3 separate regions of the Homo sapiens genome follow, and regions 1 and 2 are each linked to region 3. The links are contacts of gene promoters, found by promoter capture Hi-C in human tissues and cell types (Jung and others, 2019). All regions are on one chromosome and are shown on one strand. Each heading gives the region's core, a stretch centred on a gene start or on the middle of the fragment in contact. The rest is flanking DNA. Distances are from core to core; before and after follow the strand shown.

The links. The method cuts DNA at HindIII sites, captures the fragments that hold promoters and counts their contacts. A contact is called where the count stands out against the background at its distance.
Region 1: a contact is called between a fragment that was not itself captured here and the fragment with the promoter of ZNF440 in region 3, in 4 of the 25 tissues and cell types used here (dorsolateral prefrontal cortex, hippocampus, liver and 1 more).
Region 2: a contact is called between a fragment that was not itself captured here and the fragment with the promoter of ZNF440 in region 3, in 2 of the 25 tissues and cell types used here (H1 embryonic stem cells and adrenal gland).

What each region holds. Positions count from the first base shown.
Region 1 is chr19:12,126,989-12,129,750 of GRCh38, forward strand. No RefSeq gene overlaps it. Among named protein-coding and RNA genes, the nearest start is that of ZNF20, 12 kb to the right of the region's middle. The HindIII fragment of the contact is 9,523 bases long and covers 1-2,762 here.
Region 2 is chr19:12,275,567-12,278,304 of GRCh38, forward strand. It overlaps ZNF44 (zinc finger protein 44), which reads right to left. Exons shown (of 4, transcript NM_016264.4): 2 at 390-516. Among named protein-coding and RNA genes, the nearest start is that of ZNF44, 18 kb to the right of the region's middle. The HindIII fragment of the contact is 9,813 bases long and covers 1-2,738 here.
Region 3 is chr19:11,812,795-11,815,719 of GRCh38, forward strand. ZNF440 (zinc finger protein 440) reads left to right here and starts at 1,479. Exons shown (of 4, transcript NM_152357.3): 1 at 1,479-1,656. The coding sequence starts at 1,654. RefSeq lists silencers at 1,314-1,393, 1,814-1,883. The HindIII fragment of the contact is 18,958 bases long and covers 1-2,925 here.

The sequences.
Region 1 (2,762 bases), core at 126-2,625, 310 kb after region 3:
TACTGTATTTATGTTATGTTATGTTGTTATGTTATGTTATGTTATGTTATGTTATGTTATGTTATGTTATGTTATGTTATTTTAGAGACAAGGTCTTGCTCTGTTGCCCAGGCTGGAGTGCAGTGTTGCAGTCTCAGCTCACTGCAACCTCTGCCTCCCAGGTTCAAGTGATTCTCCTGCTTCAGCCTCCCGAGTAGCTGGGATTACAGGTGGCCACCACCCCAGCCGGCTAATTTTTGTACTTTTAGTAGAGACAGGGTTTCACTATGTTGGCCAGGCTGGTCTAGAACTCCTGACCTCAAGTGATCCGCCCGCCTTGGCCTCCCAAAGTGCTGGGATTATAGGCATAAGCCGCCGTGCCTGGCCCCTGAAATACTTTTTAATATAGGGTGTAAGCCAGGCGCGGTGGCTCACATCTGTAATACAAATACAAATACAAAAATTAACCAGGTGTGGTAGTGCGTGCCTGTAATCCCAGCTACTCGGGAGGCTGAGGCAGGAGAATTGCTTGAACCCAGCAGGTGAAGGTTGCAGTGAGCTGAGATCGCACCACTGCACTCAAGCCTGGCGACAGAGCGAGACTCTGTCTCAAAAAAAAAAAAAGTGTGTAACAGTTGGTGAAAAGGTTCAAAAAAAAAAAGAAAAGAAAAGAAAGGTGACACTTAAATTTACATGACTTTTTTTTTTTTTTTTTTGAGACAGCGTCTTGCTCTGTCACCCAGGCTGGAGTGCAGTGGCACAATCTTGGCTCAATGCAAGCTCTGCCTCCCAGGTTCATGCCATTCTCCTGCCTCAGCCTCCTGAGTAGCTGGGACTACGGGCGCCCGCCACCACGCCCGGCTAATTTTTTGTATTTTTAGTAGAGACAGGGTTTCACCATGTTAGCCAGGATGGTCTCGATCTCCTGACCTCGTGATCTGTCTACCTTGGCCTCCCAAAGTGCTGGGATAACAGGCGTGAGCCACCGCACCCAGCCTACATGACTTAACTTTTTACCTTGTTAAACAGAGAGCAATCAACCCTGTGAACGTTATGTTCCAGATTCTGACAAGTGTGTTGAAAAAATTCTACACACTAAATGAAATAGGAGTAATGGGTGAGAGAGTGTGACCTTGAGTTTCAAGTTGGGGTAAGGGGGGCGGAAAAGAAGACAGTGTCTTGAGGTGGTGACATCTGTAGTGAGATCTGAAATGACGTGTTAGTATATGAAGTCAGGAAAGAGGATTCTGGGAAGATGGCAGAATAGGAAGTATCAAGCAGAAACTACAGGAAGCCATTTTTGTGAACTGAGTTCCTCTGCTGGGCCCTCAGAAACCAGACCTACCCCAGCGATTAGGAAATTACACCTAGGCAATCGTCATTGCCCCACACGCTACAAAGAACGTTCAGTAGACAATGGCTTGAGAAATGCGCCCAGTCCAATCTTTGGGTAAGCCAGGTGCAGAGATGTACAAAAAGACTGTCCTTGGCAAAGTTCTATGGTCACATGATGTTTGAGGCAGTTCTGCATATCATATGAGGGCCTTATTGGAGTTCTTGTGTATCTCTGCCAAGAGAGTACTGCACAGCAGAGGTCATTATTGCAACTTCCGTGCCATTTATTTATTTTGAGACAGAGTCTTGCTCTTTTGCCAGGCTGAAGTGCAGTGGCACGATCTCAGCTCACTGCAGTCTCTGCCTCCCGGGTTCAAGGGATTCCTCTGCCTCAGCCTCCTGAGTAGCTGGGACTATAGGAGCCCGCCACCACGCCCGGCTAATTTTTTGTATTTTAGTAGAGACAGGTTTCACCATGTTGGCCAGAATGGTCTCAATCTCCTGACTTCATGATCCGCCCGCCTCGGCCTCCCAAAGTGCCGGGATTACAGGCATGAGCCACTGCACCCAGCCACTTCTGTGCCATTTAATTGTTCACCAGTTGCCACAGGTCTATCTGTGTACACCTGAGTTGCTTGAGTGGTTCTAAACAAATGAATTTAACTTTCATTGTGGTGTTGAATTTTTGTATATACCTTTTATGAATTATTTTGACCGTGGGCTGACCAATATCATGAGTAAAAGATTTAAAAGGTCTAGAGGAGCCAGGCATGTTGGCTCATGCCTATAATCCCAGCACTTTGGGAGGCCGAGGCAGATGGATCGCTTGAGGCCAGGAGTTTAGAGACCAGTCTGGCCAACATGGTGAAACTCCAATTCTACAAAAAACACAAAAATTAACTGGGCATGGTGGTGTTCGCCTGTAGTGCCAGCTACTTGGGAGGTTGTGACGAGACTTGCTTGAACCTGGGAAGCAGAGGTTGCAGTGAGCTGAGATCGTGCCACTGCAATTCAGCCTAGGCAACAGAGCGACACTCTGTCTCAAAAAAAAAAAAAAAAAAGCCATAGGTAGGAAGCAAAATGTAAATAATGAGAAAAATATATATCTTAAGTTCACATTTGAAATATGTAAGAAAATTTGGTGATGCTGCAAATAAACTGAGGATTGTAATTATATAAATTACAAGTTTTTCCTGAGAAAAAACACATTTTCAACCTAAGTACATTGATCTTAAAGGATTTTTCCTTTGCTTTTTGACCTTGCTTTGTGAAAAAGTGCAAAAATAAGACATGAATAGTCAAAATAAGAATTTTTGGGCCAGGCGTGGTGGCTCACACTTATAATCCCAGCACTTTGGGAGGCCGAGGTGGGCGGATCACGAGGCCAGGAGATCGAGACCATCCTGGCTAACATGGTGAAACCCTGTCTCTACTAAAAAAAAAAATAC
Region 2 (2,738 bases), core at 145-2,644, 460 kb after region 3:
ACCCGGGAGGCGGAGCTTGTAGTGAGCCAAGATGGAGCCACTGCACTCCAGCCTGGGCGACAGAGCAAGACTCCATCTCAAAAAAAAAGAAAAAAAATTTACTTTCTCTAACTTACTTTATTCTGAGAATACAGTATGCAATACATATGACATATATGTGCTCGTCACTTGTTTATATGACTGATAAGGCTGCTGGTCAAAAGTAGGTTAAGCTGTGGCAGACAAAAGATTATATGAGGACATACAACAGGTTGGGGCCTGGCACTTCACCCTGTGTTGTTCAGGAATGAACTGTATCCCTTTTCCATATTTCAAATCACTGAACAGCATTGATGACCACAAAACAAATGTCTCTAATTGACCAAATGAAGACATGATGTCATCCATACCTATACAGTTCAGGTTCCTAATGGTTTCTCGCATCACATCTCTGTAGAGATTCTTCTGTGATGGACCCAGCAAAGCCCACTCCTCATGGGTGAAGTTCACAGCCACATCCTCAAAGGCCACTGAGTCCTGAAACATCCCATATGTCCAGAAAAGGAAGGTTGAAACTCACAGTACTGAGAACCTATACTCACCTTCATAAACTTCCCATGATGCTGTGGTTTCCAAGCATTTATTCAATGACGTGGTAAATCCACTCTTATTCTGTGTCTGCACTCACTGTCTGATGCTGGAATTCTGATGCTGGAATTGGGCTTGCTAAAATAACAGTTGAGTAGGAACATATCTCTTATTGGTGAATTATGCAAGTGAATCTTATTGCCTGGATTACTCCTAATGTCTGTTTCTACAGTGGGTCTGTAGTCCTTGTCATGACAAAGTCCTACCACCTACTGTGCAAAAGAGAGTTACAATTAGCAGTCCTGAGACGGCATATCCTTACAACTGCTTGTTCACAATGTTGAACCTTTCGTGGTGTCTAGACAATGTATTTAGGGGAGGGCCCCGTAAGCATAACTAATAAAGGGGGTGGAGTGTGCCTAAACTATTTGTGTAAAAATTATGGTATTTGCTTAACTCCTAACTTCCCTCTGAGAGTTTGGAATTGTATTACATCCTCAGCAGAGGAAGTGTACCCAATCAGCCACTGCTAGGTTTGAATGTCTTCCCCTCCAAAATGCAGGCTGAAACTGAATCTCCAATGTGGAAGTAATCAAAGGTAGTGGTTTAAGAGGTGAGTGGGTCTTGAGGGTTTGGAACACATGGATGGATTAATCCACTCATGTATGAATGGCTTAATAAATAAACTGGTTATCACAGATGAGGTTCTGGTGTCCTTATGAGAAGAGGAAGATACTTCAGCTAGACACTCAGCCCCCTCATCATGTAATGCCCTGTACCACCCAGGGACTCTACAGAGTCCCCATCAGCAAGAAGATTCCCACCAGATGCCCACTTTGACCTTACTTGATCTTCCCAGCTTTCAGAACTGCAAAAAATAAATATCATTTCTTATAGATTACCCCAGTTCTGGTATCCTGTTGTAAGTAACAAAAAAACAGTCTTATAGACTAAGACATACACAAAGAAACACTCTAGGCACAGGGTCCCTAATGTGCAACTCTGGTAGATGATATTTCATATTTTTGTTGTTGTTGTTTTTTCAATGTCTTACTTGGGGGATTTAGCCTATCCTACGTGATTACACAGAGAGAATATTTGGAAGCTGGTGACTGGTTCCCTGTAGATCAAATGTAGTTAAGTATGACAAAAGACTAATAAAAGAGATTTTACCAACTAAATAGAAAAAATTGTAACTTTCTACTGGGTAATGTCGAAGGAGAAAGAAAAGAAGAGGACAGACTGCAAATGTTCTTAGACAGAATTCAGTGTCAGCTTTCATGAATATCAATTATATTCCATAAATCTCAACAGCAGACATTTAATAATCAATAACATTACATAAACCAATTTTTATAGAAGTCATAAATGTCTAAAGATGCTTAAAAAAAACCTTCTCATCAAGAAAGTAGACAGCTTTACAAAAACAAACAGAAGATTTAAAACTGTAATTTTTCACATCCCATACTATTAACAGAGAGAAAAAGATACATAAACAGGAAAGTGAAAAATGATAGAAAAGCCTTGTATTGTTTTTTCTTTGGCCCCATCTCTGCCCATCTCATTGCCAGTCCTGAAGACAGCAGAGTTCCCAGTGTAGAACTCTGATCACCACAGAGTGTACAGATCACATTTTGTTTCCACATTATTGCCTTTGTATTTTTGAATCAGTCTGGGGACTAACCGAAGGTCTGAAACAAGGCTCTCTTTTCTATTTCATCTACAACAGAATCCAATCAGAGTCAAACTGGGCAGGAACTACTTTAAAATGTTGTAAAATACACAAAAAGTGTGCAACCACCTAGGACAACACAAGATGACTAAGACATACATTAGAAGGCCAGGTGTGGTGGCTCACACCTGTAATCCCAGTACTTTGGGAGGCCAAGGTGTTGGGAACAGGCCCCCAAATCTAGCCATAAACAAAATCTCTGCAGCACTGTGACATGCTCGTGATGGCTATGACGCACATGCTGAAGGTTGTTGGTTTACCGGAATGAGGGCAAGGAACACCTGGCCCACCCAGGGTGGAAAACTGCTTAAGGCGTTCCTGAACCACAAACAATAGCATGGGCCATCTGTGCCTTAAGGACAAGTTCCTGCTGCAGATAACTAGCCAGAGCCCTTCCCTTTGTTTCCCGTAAGGAAGGCTTTTAGTTAGTCTATAATCT
Region 3 (2,925 bases), core at 229-2,728:
TGGCTGTGCTAATTTCTCCAGGAAATATTCACAGAATATTGAATTTATCATTGTAAGGTGTGGAGCAATGAAGATGCCCAAGAGGCCAGGCGCACACCTGTAATCCCAACACTTTGGGAGGCTGAGGCTGGAGGATCACTTAAGCTCAGGAGTTTGAGATCAACCTGAACAACCGAATGAGACCTCATCTCTACCAAAAATAAAAAACTAGCCAGGCATGGTGGCAGGCACTTGTAGTCCCACCTACTTAGGAGGCTGAGGTGGGAGGATTGCTTGAGTCTGGGAGGTTGAGGCTGCATTGAGTAGCCATCGCACCACTGCACTCCAGCTTGGGCGACAGAGTGAGACCCCGTCTCAAAAAAAGATGGCTAAAACATAATTTTTTTTTTTTTGAGATGGAGTCTCACTGTGTCTCAGGCTGGAATGCAGTGGCACGATCTTGGCTCACTGCAAACTCTGCCTCCCGGTTCAAGCAATTCTCCTGCCTCAGCCTTTCAAGTAGCTGGGATTACAGGCATGCGCCACCATTCCTGGCTAATTTTTGTATTTTTAGTAGAGATAGGATTTCACCATGTTGGCCAGGCTGGTCTTGAACTCCTGACCTCGTGATCCACCTGCCTCAGCCTCTCAAAGTGCTGGGATTACAGGCATGAGCCACCGCGCCCGGCCTGCCTAAATCATAATTTCTATGACAGAATTTCTCATTTACAGCTTCCCCTGAGACCATCTTTCATTTCAGTTAACCCTGCTCCTTGGGGGTTATATGTGAGATAAAAGTGCCATGCTATATCATGTTCCCTGGCTCAGTCCTACACAGCATGTCCTGAAAAATGGGTCTTCAGTCACTGTCAATGCACCAGGGATAGATATACATAGTACTGAGAGCCTCTAAATCTTTAATAAGTTCTGGCTTGGTTAGCTCCCTTACAAGGAAAACCTTGCTGGAGTCCATAGCAGTGTGAGGAAGCCTTGGCCATGCCTCATCCCATTTCCCGCACGCTGGAAGACATCTGCCTCTCTCTCCTGGTGCAGTCGTGCCTTGCCTGGTCTGGGCTCCCCTCCTGCTCTGAGGCAAGCGTATCTCTCCATTGAACACTGAGTCTGAAATGCCCTGCACACACTTGTGATCCCGTGCAGAAGGAAGGAGCAGGGACAGCCCCTTGAATGAGGAAGCTAACAGTGCCTCTTCTAACAATAAGGAGCAAGTCGCCTTGAAATGCAAATATCTGATGACCAGGGCTCAAGGAAGGCGCTCGCTTAGAGAGGCTGTTCGCTTAGAGAGGCTGCTCGCTTAGAGAGGCTGCTCGCTCAGAGACGCTGTGGCCAGAACAAGTCAGACATGATCTGCAGGACCCGGTTACCCAGGGCTTCTGCTGTCACTCAGCACGGAGGAGGCGGGGCCTGGCGCCCCATCCAATCAGGGGTGCTGGGGCGGGGCCCTGTCAACTGTCCATCCGGGGAAGGGGGAAGGGACAGTCGCCCTCCGTCCATTCCTTTAGTGCTGCGCCGACAGCGGTCAGGATCTCGGCTTTCTTGCTTCGAGAGGGACTAGGTGCCTCCACCAGAGCTTCTGTCGCTCTGTAACCTGCACTGTGACCTACACTAGTCGCGGGAGCCACGCAGAGGACGCCGGAACACCCTGGAAGCCGAGAAATGGTGTGTGTGAGGGGGCTGGCGTCCGGGCGACTGGGAGAGGGGCTGGAATCGGCCGGAACCGGCTGAGGCGGGACCCGGGCCTCCACGCGGCGACTCCGGGGTCGTGGACGCGAGTCCCCTCGGTCGCAGGGTGGGGCTGGGCCGGCAGCCGGGACCCCGGGCCTCCTGTCCCGTCCCTTCACGGCGACTGCGGCCCCGGCTCCGGAGCCTAATCTGGGCAGCTCCGCGTCTCCCCACATTATGCGGGGGCCACGGGAGGGATATGGGGGGATCCCGCCTCGGATATGGGGTTTGTTAGAAACAAGTGCCCGGTGCCGCAAAGAAAACCAGCATCTAGGCAGAAAATTCCTCAGCAAAGCAAATTTATTTCTACACAAGGGTGCAGCTTGCGCCAGTCACAAGAGCACAGCGAGCGGGGTAGGGCAGGGGTTTTTCTCCTTAACGCAGTTTCTAGCACTTCTGTGTCCTTTCCTCATTGGCTAGGGTTGGACCTCACAATCTAAACTAACTCGATAGGCTAAGGTTTAAAATTAAATAGGGTCTGGCCAGGCGCGGTGGGTCACGCCTGTAACCCCAGCACTTTGGGAGGCCGAGGCAGGCGGATCGCGAGGTCAGGAGATCGAGACCATCCCTGGCTAACACGGTGAAACCCCGTCTCCACTAAAAATACAAAAAAATTAACTGGGTATGGTGGCGGGCGCCTGTAGTTCCAGCTACTCGGGAGGCTGAGGCAGGAGAATGGCGTGAACCCGGGAGGTGGAGCTTGCAGTGAGCCGAGATCGCACCACTGTACTCCAGCCTGGGCAACAGAGCGAGACAACTGGGCAACTCCGTCACACACACACACACACACACACACACACACACACACACACAAATTAAATAGGGTCTATGAGACGGGAAGGAACAGGGACTGTCCGTTACTAGGCGGGAAGGCGTATCTGGACTTGTCTGGGCGCGGCAAAAGCGGGAAGGTTGTTTACAGAACAGGTAGCTAGGAGACAAGGAAGTCGGTCTCAAGAAACAAAGAACAGCTTACTAAAGCTTTTAGAAAAGTAATTTATCATCTCTGACAGGTTCGTGTGGGAGGAGTAGCGGTCTTTGGGGTCCCCAGTGCCCACTTTTTTCTGTTAAAAATTAAACTGAGGTACGTTAACAATTAAAGAGTTTAGGGCCGGGCGCGGTGGCTCACGCCTGTAATCCCAGCACTTTGGGAGGCCGAGGCGGGCGGATCAGGAAGTCAGGAGTTCAAGACCAGCCTGGCCAACA